Linked DNA regions of Homo sapiens: region 1 is linked to region 2. Evidence: promoter capture Hi-C in 16 types of primary human blood cells and fetal thymus (Javierre and others, 2016). All regions are on one chromosome and are shown on one strand. Each heading gives the region's core, a stretch centred on a gene start or on the middle of the fragment in contact. The rest is flanking DNA. Distances are from core to core; before and after follow the strand shown.

Evidence for each region. The method cuts DNA at HindIII sites, captures the fragments that hold promoters and counts their contacts. A CHiCAGO score of 5 or more calls a contact.
Region 1: a fragment that was not itself captured here is called in contact with the fragment with the promoter of MED12 in region 2 in 1 of 17 cell types (neutrophils); the score reaches 5.7 in neutrophils.

What each region holds. Positions count from the first base shown.
Region 1 is chrX:71,031,582-71,039,364 of GRCh38, forward strand. No RefSeq gene overlaps it. Among named protein-coding and RNA genes, the nearest start is that of SNX12, 33 kb to the right of the region's middle. The HindIII fragment of the contact is 2,217 bases long and covers 1,323-3,539 here.
Region 2 is chrX:71,113,804-71,121,442 of GRCh38, forward strand. MED12 (mediator complex subunit 12) reads left to right here and starts at 4,793. Exons shown (of 45, transcript NM_005120.3): 1 at 4,793-5,050; 2 at 5,570-5,674; 3 at 5,883-6,074; 4 at 6,211-6,367; 5 at 7,168-7,349; 6 at 7,524-7,634. The coding sequence starts at 4,952. The HindIII fragment of the contact is 19,646 bases long and covers 1-7,639 here.

The DNA of each region.
Region 1 (7,783 bases), core at 1,181-3,680, 85 kb before region 2:
GCCTGGGATAAATCCTAGGTCTCTCAGCTAAAGGAGCCCCAAAGTGATGACACCTCAGTAGCAATAAGTATACCCCAGCACAGAGATCCTGGTTGCTAAATATCATTCCCCACTTAAGGGAGCCAGGCTTCCTTGGAGAAATAGCTGATTCCAAGGTTAGGGCCAGGAAAATACATGATAAGCCTGAAATATTCCTGTTGTCCCAGAAAGTAAGAAAGTGCCAAAGAATGATGGAGGCATGTCAATGGACACAGAAACCAGCTTGAAGAAGCTCCCACTGACCAAATCTGGGCCAATTAGAGCATCAAAATAAACAGTAAAACGTTATAACTCATGTAATAAGTAAGAATCCATGAGTCCATACTGATAATCAATTAATTAATCAATACATAGGGTAAAAGGAAAGCTCTTCTTTACAATTGAATGCCAGCAAATAAGTGTAGAACTAATGATGTATTTAGAAAATCACCATTTTTGAAATATAATAGTAATAACTGATTCAGGCAATAATCAATGAATGTTAAAATCTATTGGCTGAGACTTTGATATGGAATAGGACATTTTATACAGTCTCAAAGTGTCCCCCCACAAATTGCATATTTATTACAAAGGTAAAAATGGTAACTTTAGAGTGGAGAAACCTGGCAGACCCTACTTTAACCAAGTAGTCAAAGTTAATATCACCAATAATGGGGCAAAGTGATATCATGTACCTCCTGTTGCCAATGCACTGAGAACACATCACTTCTGTGATATTCCTACAAAAAGAAGCATAATCTGAATCTAATCATGAGGAAACATTAGACAAACCCAAACTAAGGAACATTATACAAAATATCTGGCCTGTACTCTTCAAAAGTGTCAATGTCAGGAAAGACAAAGAAAAGCTGAGAAACTACTCCAAATTAAAGGCAATTAAAGTGACATGACAACTAAATTCAATGTATAATCCTGGACTGTATTCTGGACTGGGGAAAAATGCTATAAAGGAAATTATTAGGACAAGAGGTAAAAGCTGAATGTGGACAGCAGTGGTATTACATCAATGTTAATTTTCCTGATTTTGATCATTATGCTGTGGTTTTGTAAGAGGATGTCCCTGTTCTCAGGAAAGATATGCTGAAGTATTTAGGAGTATAGGGGCCTTATGTCTCCAGGTTATTCTGATTCAGAGAAAAAATAGATAAAGATAGAGATAGAATGATAAAGCAAATGTGGCAACATGTTAAAAATATATGAATCTGGGTTAAGGGTAAGTGGAAGTTCTTTGTAATATTACTGTAACTTTTCTTTAAGTTTGAAATAATTTTGAAGTTTTTAAAAGCTTTGAATGATTAAAAAAGACAGAAAACTATACTAAATGTTCTCTAAAGTTCTAACAAGGCCATCAGCAAGAGATAAATTCTAAAACTAAGGCTTTTAGCAAAGGAGACAATAATATTAAATAATTTTTAAGACTTAGAAAAGCTACTAACAGATTAAAAATAGGCTTTCTGTAATAGAAATAACATGGTATTTTGTGTCACATAGACCAGGATTCAAATCCTTGCTCTATCATTTATTATTTGTATGATCTTGAACCAAGTCATTTAGCTTTTCTCAGCCTTAATCTCTTTATGTTGTAAAGGCAATACTACCTACTTCTCTAGTTACACACATATATATTTCCCTAACATACAAAAAACTTTTACAAATCATTGCATATCAACATGAAAAAGATGAACACCCCAATAGACAAATGCACAAAGAACAGTCAATTCATGATAAATTATATACAAATAGTCAATAAATACAGTATGTGCAAACCTCACCAGTAATAAAAGAAATGCCAATAAAACTGAAATATAGGTTTGGCACGGTGGCTCAGGCCTGTAATTCCAGCATTTTGGGAGGCCGAGATGGGCAGATCACCTAAGGTCAGGAGTTTGAGACCAGCCTGGCCAACATGGCAAAACCCCATCTCTACTAAAAATATAAAAATTAGCTGGGCGTGGTGGCCTGCACCTGTAATCCCAGCTACTCAGTAGGCTGAGGCAGGAGAATCACTTGAACACAGGAGGCAGAGATTGCAGTGAGCCAAGATCGCACCACTGCACTCCAGCCTGGGCCACCACAGAGTGAGACTCCATCAAAAAAAAAAAAAGCCCACAAAAAAACTGATATATAATTTTTCACCTATTAGGATTGGCACAGAATAAAAAGACATAAAACCCAGTGTTGATGAGAGTATAAGAAAACAGACCAAGCACAGTGGCTCACACCTGTAATCCCAGCACTTTGGGAGGCCAAGGCAGGTGGATCACCTGAGGTCAGGAGTTCGAGGCCAGCCTGGCCAACATGGTGAAACCCCGTCTCTACTAAAAATACAAAAAATTACCTGGGCGTGGTGGCAGGCGCCTGTAATCCCAGCTACTCTGGAGGCTGAGGCAGCAGAATCGCTTGAAGTGGGGAGGCGGGGGTTGCAGTGAGCTGAGATCATGCCATTGCACTCCAGCGTGGGGGACAAGTGCAAAACTCCATCTCAAAAAAAAAAAAGGAAGGAAGGAAGGAAGGAAGAAAGAAAGAAAGGAAGGAAGGAAAGAAAAGAAAAGAAAATGTAGTATTGGTGGTAAGGTAAACTGATACAACCTTTCTAGAAGGCATTTGATAATATTCAGCAAAATCCATCCAGGAACTTCTACATTGAAAACTACATAACATTGCTAAGAGGAATTTTACAAGACTGAAATAAATAGGCTGGGCATGGTGGCTCATGCCTGTAATCCCAGCACTTTGGGAGGTCGAGGCAGGCAGATCACTTGAGCCCAGGAGTTCAAGACCAGCCTGGGCAACACAGTGAAACCCCATCTCTACCAAAAAAACTTGTTCAGGCATGGTGGCACACACCTGTGGTCCCAGCTACTTGGGAGGCTGAAGTGGGAGGATCGCTTGAGCCCGGGTGGTTGAGGCTGCAGTGAGCCATAGTTATGCCACTGCACTCCAGCCTGGGTGACAGAGTGAAACTCCATCTTTAAAAAACAAATAAAAACCTGAAATAAATAGATATACCATGATCATGAGTTAGAAGACACAATATTGTTAAGATGTAAATCCTCCCAGAATTCTTCTATAGATTCAATACAAGAGCAGTCATAATACTACCAGGTTTTTTAAAGAGAAATGGACAAACTGATTCTAAAATGTATATGGAAATGGAAAGGATCTAAAATATCCAAAACGATCTTGAAAAACAACAGCAAAGTTGGAAGACCTATATTCCTGACATTAAGACTTACTATAAAACTACAGTACTTAATAGATAAATAGATCAATGGCACAAAATACAGAGCCCAGAAATAAACTTGCACATATAAAGTCATTGATTTTTGATCAAGCAATGTTGAATTGGGGAAAGGAAAGTCTTTTCAACAAATGGTGCTAGAATAACTGGATATTCATTTGGGAAAAATAAACCTCAACCCCAACCCCACATCACACCCAAAAACCAACTGAAGATGGATCATGACACTAAACATATAATATAAATGCTAAAACTCTAAAGCTTCTAGAAGAAAATCCAGAAGAGAATCTTTGGGACTTAGGGATAAACAAAGATCTTTTAGAACACAGAAAGCTATAGTCATAAAAGAAAAAAAAATGATAAATTAGAATTCACTGAATTTTAAAATCTTCTCATGAAAAACTACTATTAAGAAAATGAATAGGCAAGCACAGACTAAGAGAAAATACTTGAAAAACATATATCTGACAAAGGACTTGTAAGCAGAATATATAAAGAACTCTTACAAATCAATCATTTAAAAATGGATTTAATCCAACTTTAAAATGGACAAAAGATTTGAATAGATATTTAGCAAAGATATTTGAATGGTCAATAAGCACATGAAAAAGTGCTTGACATCATTAATACTCAGGGAAATGCATATTAAAACTACAATGAGCCAGGCACAGTGGCTCACACCTGTAATCTGAGCATTTTGGGAGGCCGAGGCAGGTGGATCACTTGAGCCCAAGAGTTCCAGACCAGCCTGGGCAACATGGTGAAGCCCTGCCTCTACAAAAAACAAAGCAAAAATTAGCTGGGTGTGGTGGCATGGCCTGTAGTCCCAGCTATTTGTACTACTGCACTCCAGCCTGGGATCCTATCTTTGGAAAAAAAAAAAAAAAAAACTACAATGAGATACTACTACACACCCACCAGAATGGCTAAAATGTTAAAAGACTGACCATACCAAGTGTTCGAGAGAATGAAAAACTACTAGAATTCTCATATATTGCTAGTGGGAATAAAAAATGGTACAACCTGTTTAGAGAATTACTTAGAAGTTTCTTATAAATTTAAATACACATCTATCCTATAGTCTAGCAATTCCACTTCTAGGTATTTACAAAAAAAAAAAAAAAAAGGAAGCATATGTTTATAAAAAGACTTGTACCAGAATGTTTACTTCAGCTTTATTCATAGTAGCCAAAAACTGTAAATAATCCAAATGTCCATCAATAATAGAATGGATACGCTGGTTACGGCGGCTCATGCCTGTAATCCCAGCACTTTGGGAGGCCAAGGCAGGACCTAAGGTCAGGAGTTTGAGACCAGCCTGGCCAACATGGTGAAACCCCATCTCTACTAAAAAGTACAAAATTAGCTGGGTGTGGTAGCACATACCTGTAGTCCCAGCTACTCAGGAGGCTGAGACAGGAGAATCGTTTGAATCTGGGAGGTGGAGGCTACAGTGAGCCGAGATCATGCCACTGCACTCCAGCCTGGGCAAGACACAGCAAGACTCTGTCTCAAAAAAAAAAAAAAAAAAAAAAAAAAAAGAACAGAATGGATAAACTAGCATAGTCATACAATAGAATGCTACTCAGCACTGAAAAGGAACAAACTTGATACACACAATAACATGGATAAATCTCAAAAACATTATGCTGAGCAAGGCCAGGTACAGTGGCTCATGCCTGTAATCCCAGCACTTTGGGAGGCCAAGGCAGGTGGATCATTTGAAGCCAGGAGTTCAAGACCAGCCTGACCAACATGGCAAAATCCCATCTCTACTAAAAATACAAAAATTAGCTGAGCATGGTGGCACATCCCTTTAATCCCAACTACTTGGGAGGCTGAGGCACAAGAATTGCTTGAACCTGGGAAGCAGAGGTTGCAGTGAGCTGAGATCGTGCCACTGCATTCCAGCCTGGGTGATGTAATGAGAGTCTGTCTCGAAAATAAATAAAATAAAATAATATTACATTCTCACAATGAAATGCTATACAGCCTTTTTTTATTTTTTAAGAAATGGGATCTCACTACGTTGTCCAGGCTATTCACAGACATGACCATAGGGCACTACAGCCTTGAACTCCTGGACTCAAGCGATCTTTCCACCTCAGCCTCCCAAAGAGCTGAGACTACAGGCACCATACCACTGTGCCCACCTTACAAAGCCACTTAAAACAATAGTGTAATCTATATTCATTGACATAGAAAAATGTCCAAAACGTACTGTTGAGTGAAAAAAAGGATTAAAAACAGCATGAAATAAAGAAAAATAAGTTAAACAAGATATTTTTCACCTATCATGTTGATAAGGATGAAAAAATGATTGATAAATGATAAAGATTGAAAAACGACCTAATTCTGGCAAGTATATGGGGAAAACACATTTTTATATACTGTTAGTGGAGTGTAAATTGGTAGATTCTATAGGGCTATATGACTATACTACTAAAATTGTAAATATGTTTATCATTTCACACAGCAATCCATTTCTAAAAATTTATCCCACAGTAATACTCACAGAGACACACAAAGATTTATGTACAAAGAGTATTGTTTTACATATAATCTATGCACAAAAAAGAATGCAGTAGTATTTGCAACAGTCAAACATTAGAACAATGCCTGTACAGTGAATCTGGCAAAATGAAATAATGGTCCATGTATACAATGGAACACCATGCACCTGTTAAAATCAATGAGTTGGCCGGCGAGGTGGCTCACACCTGTAATCCCAGCACTTTGGGAGGCTGAAGCGGGCAGATCACCTGAGGTCGGGAGTTCGAGACCAGGCTGGTCAACATGGTGAAACCCCATCTCTACTAAAAATACAAAAAATTAGCTGGGTGTGGCGGCAGGCACCTGTAATCCCAGCTACTTGGGAGACTGAGGAGGAAGAATCGCTTGAAACTGGGAGGCGGAGGTTGCAGTGAGCTGAGATCATGCTACTGCACTCCAGCCTGGGCTACAGAGCAAGACTCCATCTCAAAATAAGTAAAATAAAATAAAATAAAATAAAATGAGTTGGTGCTATGTGTAGTGAAACAATAAAAATGTCAAAAATAAAGTTTGGGCCGGGCACAGCGGCTCAGGCCTGTAATCCCAGCACTTTGGGAGGCTGATAGGGGGGGATCACCTGAGGTCAGGGGCTCGAGACCAGCCTGGCCAACATGGTGAAACCCCGTCTCTACTAAAAATACAAAAATTAGCCGGGCATGGTGGCACACACCTGTAGTCCCAGCTACACGGGAGGCTAAGGCAGAAGAATCGCTTAAACCCAGGAGGCGGAGGTTGCAGTGAGCCAAGATTGTGCCACTACCCTCCAGCCTGGATGACAGAGCGAGACTCTGTCAAAAAAAAAAAAAAAGTTGTGGACAGAGAATGAGATATTGGAATTGTATATTTTCAGATATAGAGTAATTCTGGGAAATGACAAAATCCAGAATGAGGCTAATAAATTTTCTTGCAGAAGTAGAGTGGAGAAGAGCACTAGAAATGGTCAAGGAGCTGTGAAGGTAGAGTGTTGCTTGGCCAGTTCATCCACAGGAGCATTGTGATGGGCTGGGAGGTAGAGAGCAGATGCTCAAGTCTCCATAGAATATCAGGAAATATTCAAGAAGGCAATAAATGACTACATCGAGAAGGAATAAAAGGTAATATTGCAAAAGGCATGAGCCTTAAAAGAGAGGCCTTTAATGTGAGGGTTGAAAGCAAAGGTCTAGAAGCAGTGATGAAGAGTAGGAATGATGATGACTTCTGGGAAACAAAAATTACAATGATTAATAACTCTCCAGTATCAGTGAGGTATAAGAAAACAGGCATTCATGTATGCTTGGTAAGAAGGTACATTAGAAAAAACTTTCTGGATAAAAATTTGGCAGTATTTATCAATTTTTTTAATGTTTGTGTCATTTGATTCAGCAGTTTCAAATCCACAAATCTATCCTACAAATATATTCACATGTACCCAAACATACATGTATTAGCATTTCACTGTGGCATTGTTTGTAAAACTGGAAACAACCTAAATATTCATCAGTAGGGATATTTGTTCAATCAGTTATGTGAGGCTTTCACTCAAGAACCATAGCAATACAGAGGGCACACCCTGGGAGAGAAGCCGGGTTTCAGTTAAAGCAAGCAAGTGGAGAGAGAATTCAGTGAGGAAATTTAGGGTACAGTAGAGTCTGTCTACAATGGTACCAGTTTTCCAGAAAACATAGTACAAATAATTGGCAAGAGAGGCAATAGTGGGTGGATGATGGAGGGTAAGGAAAAGTGTAGAAGAACAGAAGGAAGCCCAAAGGGGTTCAAGACAGAGTGAACAAAAAGGCAGATGATCAAAAAGGCTTGCAGTATTAATTGGTTTTCAGTTAACTGGACTCTTCAGTCTAAAATGCCCTTCCCGGCCCTTGAAAATCCAGGAAACTCCTACTCATTCTTTAAATCTCAGACCAAAAACTATCTTTTCTATGAAGCCTTCCCTGATGGCCTATGGTCGAATTATGA
Region 2 (7,639 bases), core at 3,543-6,042:
GAATAAAGCCCAAGCTCCAATGATCAATTCCAGCCACACTGGATATGTCATACGCATTTCCTTTCTCTGGAATTAGCCTCTTCCTAACTTTCTGTAGGCTAAAATCCTTCAGAAGGCAAAACCCCATCTCTACAAAAATACAAAAATTAGCCACGTTTGGTAGCACTCACCTGTAGTCCCAGCTACTCAGGTGGCTGAGGCACAAGAATCACTTGAACCCAGGAGGCAGAGGTTGCAGTGAACTGAGATCGCACACTGCACTCCAGCCAGAGTGACAGAGCAAGACTCTGCCTAAAAAATAAAATAAATAAAATAAATAAATCCTTCAGGGCTACATGCCTATTAGAATAGCCAAAATGGGCTGGGCAAGGTGGCTCACACCTTGCCTGAAATCCCAGCACTTTGGGAGGCTGAGGCGAGTGGGTTGCTTGAGCCCAGGAGTTGGAGACCAGCCTGGGCAACACAGCAAGATCCCATCTCTTGTTTAAAAAAAAAAAAAAAAAAAAAAGAGGCCGGGCATGGTGGCTCATGCCTGTAATCCCAGCACTTTGGAAGGCCAAGGTGAGTGGATCATTTGAGGTCAGGAGTTCAAGACCAGCCTGGCCTACATGGTGAAACCCCGTCTCTACTAAAAAATACAAAAATTAGCCAGGCAATAGTGGCGCATTCCTGTAATCCCAGCTACTTGAGAGGCTAAGGCAGGAGAACTGCTTGAGCCTGGGAGGCGGAGGTTGCAGTGAGCTGAGATTGCACCACTGCACTCCAGTCTGGGTGACAGAGTGAGACCCTGTCTCAAAAAAAAAAAAAAAAATTGCCCAAATCCGGAACACGGACTACACCAAATGCTGGCAAGGATGTGGAGCAACAGGAACAACTCTCACTTGTTGCTGGGGGAAATGCAAAAATGGTACGGTACAGCCACTGGGGAAGACGGTTTGGCAGTTTCCTATAAAACTAAACATACTCTTTCAGCAATCATGTTCCTTGGTATTAACAAAGGAGTGGAGGCCGGGCGCGGTGGCTCACGCCTGTAATCCCAGCACTTTGGGAGGCTGAGACGGGCGGATCACGAGGTCAGGAGATCGAGACCATCCTGGCTAACACGGTGAAACCCCGTCTCTACTAAAAATACAAAAATTAGCCGGGCATGGTGGCGCGTGCCTGTAGTCCCAGCTACACAGGAGGCTGAGGCAGGAGAATGGCGTGAACCCGGGAGGTGGAGCTTGCAGTGAGTCGAGATCGCGCCACTGCACTCCAGCCTGGGCGACAGAGCGAAACTTCGTCTCAAAAAAAAAAAAAAAAAAAAAAAAAACAAAGGAGTGGAAGACTTGTGTTCACATAAAAACCTGCAGACGGATGTTTATAGCAGTTTCATTCATAATTGCCCAAACTTGGAAGCAACGAAGGTGTCTTTCAGTAGGTTTATGGATAAACTGTGGTACATCCTGAAAGTGAAATATTATTCGGTGCAAAAAGAAATGAGCTATTAAGGCCGTGAAGAGACATGGGAGAAAACTTAAATACATATGACTAAGTGAAAGAAGCCATGCAGAAAAGGCCACCTACTATAGGATTCCAACTATATGACATTCTGGAAAGGGCGAAACTATGGAGACAGTAAAAAGATCAACGGTTGCCAGGGGTTGTCGGAGAGGGAAGGATGAATAGGTGGAGCAGAAAAAGTTTTTAGGTCAGTGAAAATATTCTGTAAGATACTACAATGGTGGACACATGTTATTCTTTGTCCAAACTCACAGACTGTATAAAATAACATCAAGAGTGAACTTTAACGTAAACCATGAACTTTGGGTAATGATGTTCAAGGTAGGTCCATCAACTCTAACGAATATACCATTCTGGTGGGTTTGTTGTTGTTGTTGTTGTTGTTGTTGTTGTTTTGTTTTGTTTTGTTTTGTTTTGAGACAGAGTTTCACTCTGTTGCCCAGGCTGAAGTGCAGTGGGGTCATCATGGCTTACTGCAGCGTCCACCTCCTGAGATCGAGTGATTCTCTCCCCTCGGCCTCCAGAGTAGCTGGGACTACAGGCGCCCGCCCCTAAACCCTGCTAATGTTTTATTTTGCTTTTGGAGAGATAGAGGTTCTACCATGTTGCCCAGGCTGGTCTAGAACTCCTGGGCTCAAGCAATCCACCCATCTCGGCCTCCCAAAGTGGTGGGATTACAGGCATGAGCCACCATGCCTGGCCCACTCTGGTGGGGGATGTCAATGGGGGAGTTTATCTATGTGTGAGGGCAGACAGTATATGGGAATTCTCCATACCTTCCTCTCAATTTTGCTGTGAATCTAAAACTGCTCTAAAAAATTCTTTTATGCTGGGTGCTGTGGCTCATGCCTGTAATCCCAGCACTTTCAGAGGCTGAGGTGGGTGGATCGCTAGAGACCAGGAGTTTAAGTCCAGCCTGGGCAACATAGCAAAACCCTGTCTCCACCAAAAAAAAAAAAAAAAAAAAAAAGCAAAAATTAACCGGGTGTGGTGGCCAGCGCCTGTGATCCTAGATACTTGGGAGGCTGAGGTGGGAGGTTTGCTTGAGCCCAGGAGGTAGAGGTTGCAGTGAAGTGAGATTGCACCACTGCAGTCTAGCCTGGGCCACTGAGTGAGACCTTGTCAAAAAAAAAAAAAAAAGAAAAAAAAAGAAAGAAAAGAAAAATTATCTTTTTAAAAATATCCTTCAGGTTGGTGGCTCACGCCTGTAATCCCAACACTTTGAGAGGTGGAGGCAGGTGGATCACCTGAGGTCGGGAGTTCGAGACCAGCCTGACCAACATAGAGAAACCCCGTCTCTACTAAAAATACAACAACAAAAAAATATTTAGCTGGGCATGGTGGTGCATGCCTGTAATCCCAGCTACTCGGGAGGCTGAGGCAGGAGAATCGCTTGAACCAGGGAGGCAGAGGTTGCAGTAAGCCGAGATTGCGCCATTGCACTCCAGCCTGGGCAACAAGAGCGAAACTCAGTCTCAAAATAAATAAATAAATAAATAAATAAATAAATAAATAAATAAAATATCGTTCAGGCTGAGCGTGGTGGCTCACGCCTGTAATCCCAGCACTTTGGGAGGCCGAGGTGGGCGGATCACTTGAGGTCACGAGTTTGACACCAGCCTGGCCAACATGGAGAAACCCCGTCTCTACTAAAAATACAGAAATTAGCTAGGCATGATGGCGCAAGCCTGTAATCCCAGCTACTGGGGAGGCTGAGGCAAGAGAATCACTTGAACCTGGGAGGCGGAGGTTGCAGTGAACCGAGATCACGCCACTGCACTCCAGCCTGGGCAACAAGAGTGAGACTCCGTCTCAAAACAATAAATAAAATAAAAAATAAAATAAAATAAAAATATCCTTCAGAGTTAGTTCAAATGTTACCTCAGCCTCCTGAGCAGCTGGCATTACAGGCGCCTGCCACCACACAAGCTAATTTTTGTATTTTTAGTAGAGATGGGATTTCACCACGTTGGCCAGGCTGGTCTTGAACTCCTGACCTCAGGTGATTCCCTGCCTTGGCCTCCCAAAGTGCTGGGATTACGGACGTGAGCCACCACTCCCCGCCTTGAATTACTTCTTCTTTCCATTGTGATTCAATAGCATTTTGTTATTTTTGTTACTGGTGTTATTTTTGTTTATTGTTATTTGTTACTTTTGTTACAGCACACTGGCTGTCTTTTCTCTAAAAGGCAATACAAGGCCGGCACAGTGGCGCACGCCTGTAGTCCAGGCTACTGGGAGGCTGAGGCGGGAGGATCGCTGGAGTCCAGAAGGTTGATGCTGCAGTGAGCCGTGATAGCGCCACTGCACTCCAGCCTAGGCGACAGAGGGAGAACCTGCCTCAAAATAAACAAATAGCAATACGACAATAGGATATTGGCTCTGGAATTCAGAATCTTAGTGCCAGCTCTGTTACTCAGTAGCTGTATAATATTGGATAAGTGAATTTTCACACTTTGAAAACCAGCTTCCTCCATCCGCAAAATCGAGCCAATAATAATCCCTAACTCATGAGGCTGTGAGCAGATTAAAGGAGATAGTGTCTGAAAAGCATCTGACACAATAGGTGCCTCTTTAGCTAGACCAAGGGTTCTTAACCTGGAGTTCATGGACCCTTAGGGGATACATGGATGAACTTCAGGGGATCTAAGAATCTAAAGCAACATTTTGCATGTCAATATATGCATATTATTATTATTATTATTATTATTTCTGGGAAGAAGGTCCATAGCTTTCATCAGCACCTTTAAGGGTTTGTGAATCAAAAACGTTAGTATGCGGTACCCTTGGGCAGAAAAACAAACAAGAAAAGGTTAGACAACTCGATGGTAGACCTTGAGGGATTAGAGCCAGCCTTTCAGGGTTTAATAGGTTCTTTCTCATGCATACATAGTTTCTAATGTTCACAATAGCCCCTTGAAGGAGGTGTTAGCGCACCTATTTTTCAGATGCCGGAACTAAGAAACGAACTGATCTGTAATAGACGGAGTTCCTAACCAATGCAAATATTATTGAAGACTTTTCTAGGCCAAAACCGAGCTAGGCTATGGGAACCGAAGTCCAGTCAGAACTCAGCACCACAGAGGCCTCCTTCTTCCCTGGTTTGCATCCCCAGCTCATTCTGCGCCTCCGGAACGTTTCATAGATTTTTGCTGAGTGAAATCGACTTGCTGCCGCCACCGCCGAAAAACTCCCGGGGCACAGAGCTCCGCCCCCACCGGGCCAGGCCCCACCTCCTCTGCAGTCGGTATTGTCCGATGGTTCCCGGCGTACCTCGGCTTCCCTCGGTAGTTTCCGGCAATGGTCGAGAGTTTCTAACGTGCCCCCTTGTTGTCTCTCGGCCGCCGTCCTCTCAACCACCGCCCCCCTTTTCGGCTCCCTCTCCCCCTTCCCGTTCCCCCAGTCAGCCTGGCCCTGCTGGTGCCTCCGGCGCTACGGGCTGGGCAAGATGGCGGCCTTCGGGATCTTGAGCTACGAACACCGGCCCCTGAAGCGGCCGCGGCTGGGGCCTCCCGATGTTTACCCTCAGGACCCCAAACAGAAGGAGGTGCGTTCGAAAATCGGGGCTCTGGAGGGGCCGGGGGCACGCGGTCAGCCTAGGAGGAGGCACTGACGGCTGGGAATGGGGGGCGGGGCGGTTCGGTGAGAGCAAAAGTCCCGAAAGGGGGAAGAGTAAAGTGGGCTGGCGTGGGAGGGCAGGACGGGGGGCGGTGGGGGGTTCCAAGGTATGAATAGGGGGTGGTGTAGGGGCCGCACCAGAGGCGCCCTCCTCCACACACACCTCAGAAAGTTGTCTGAGACAGCTTGGTGGGGTACGGCTGCTCGGCTGTTCGCAAGAGAAGAGTGATGTTTGAGGGCGCGCTGGGTGGCTGGGAATCCTAGTGACCATGGGAGTGAGGGTGGGGTCCAAGTGAACGTAAGGGCCCAGCTTTAAGTAACGATCTGTTCTACACGGAACCCTCCTCCTGCCCTTTCACCTTGTTCCTTCTTTTCTCCTGCCCTACTCTCCCACCCCTTCCCCCTTCCCCTAAGGAAAAAACAACTAAACGCCGCTTTCCTGCCTCAGGATGAACTGACGGCCTTGAATGTAAAACAAGGTTTCAATAACCAGCCTGCTGTCTCTGGGGATGAGCATGGCAGTGCCAAGAACGTCAGCTTCAATCCTGCCAAGGTGAGACAACTCTGCCAGGCTGAAGGAAAAGGCTGGAAGAATCTAAGAAGGAGCAAAGGCCCTGGGTTGGGAAGACTTATAGGGACAACCTAAGTGGCTGAGTTTGCCTTCATGACCTAATACTATCTCATTGGCATTTGCCCAGCAAAAGGCAGGACCACCTGTCTGCCCCTTCTTCCCACCCTGAGGTACACTTTTCTTCCCTCAGATCAGTTCCAACTTCAGCAGCATTATTGCAGAGAAATTACGTTGTAATACCCTTCCTGACACTGGTCGCAGGAAGCCCCAAGTGAACCAGAAGGATAACTTCTGGCTGGTGACTGCACGATCCCAGAGTGCCATTAACACTTGGTTCACTGACTTGGCTGGCACCAAGCCACTCACGCAACTAGCCAAAAAGGTAAGGTACTGTTTCCTGTCCTTCAGGCCAAGGAGGGAGCATGGGGTACCAAGTACCCTCCTATTCCCATATTAAGCTACATGGGTGTCAGCTCATGGGGATAATAGAGACCTCACTATTTGCAATGTCCATCCAGGTCCCCATTTTCAGTAAGAAGGAAGAGGTGTTTGGGTACTTAGCCAAATACACAGTGCCTGTGATGCGGGCTGCCTGGCTCATTAAGATGACCTGTGCCTACTATGCAGCAATCTCTGAGACCAAGGTTAAGAAGAGACATGTTGACCCTTTCATGGGTGAGTAACTCCTAACACCAGGTGTACTGCTGATGGCTTCAAGGAGTGATAGAGACACCCTTGGAACCATCCTCCTTCTTAATCTAGATTCCTTGTTTCTGCTTGTTTCTTGCATTTGTTTGATCAGTAAACACTGAGAAATTTGAGTGTCTACTGTGCGCATATACTGGGCTACAAAGATGTCCGGTGCATAATCTCTGCCCCTAGGATACTAGTAGTCTAACAGGGCTGCTAAGGTATATGTACAAATAACATAATTAAATATAGAAAGTGGTGAATGTCAAGCTAGGAGCAGAAGGTTCTTTGAGTGGACAAAAGATTACTTTCTTATGGGGGTACCCGGAAAGGCTTTAGGAAGGTGGGATTTGACTAGAGACTAAAAGGATGAACTGAATTTACAAATATGGTGATTAGGGGTGGGGGTAAGGTATTCTAAGTAGAAGGATTTTTTTTTTTTTGAGACAGAGCAAGACTCTGTCACCCAGGCTAGAGTGCAGTGGCAGGATCTTGGCTTACTGCAACCTCCACCTCCCGGGTTAAAGTGATTCTCCTGTCTCAGCCTCCCGAGTAGCTGGGATTACAGGCGCCCACCACTGCGCCCGGCTAATTTTTGTATTTTTCTAGAGACGGGGTTTCACCATCTTGGCCAGGCTGGTCTCGAACTCCTGACCTCGTGATCCACCTGCCTCAGCCTCCCAAAGTGCTGGGATTACAGGCATGAGCCACCGCACCCAGCCAGTAGAAGGATATTCTAAGCAGAAGGATAGTATCAAATAGCCCTTTTTCCCTCTTTCCTCCAGAATGGACTCAGATCATCACCAAGTACTTATGGGAGCAGTTACAGAAGATGGCTGAATACTACCGGCCAGGGCCTGCAGGAAGTGGGGGCTGTGGTTCCACGATAGGGCCCTTGCCCCATGATGTAGAGGTGGCAATCCGGCAGTGGGATTACACCGAGAAGCTGGCCATGTTCATGTTTCAGGTAGAGAGTAGGGCATGCTGTGTGGGGCATTGGGTTGAGCTTGAACTTGTACTCTGCCAGTAGAGAACAGAATCTGCCTGCCACCTTGCCCCAGTTGTGGTTCTCTTCATCTTTTCATTTACTTTATCTGCTTCATCTCTAATAGTCCCCTCTTCCCTCCCCTGGTACCCATAGGATGGAATGCTGGACAGACATGAGTTCCTGACCTGGGTGCTTGAGTGTTTTGAGAAGATCCGCCCTGGAGAGGATGAATTGCTTAAACTGCTGCTGCCTCTGCTTCTCCGAGTAAG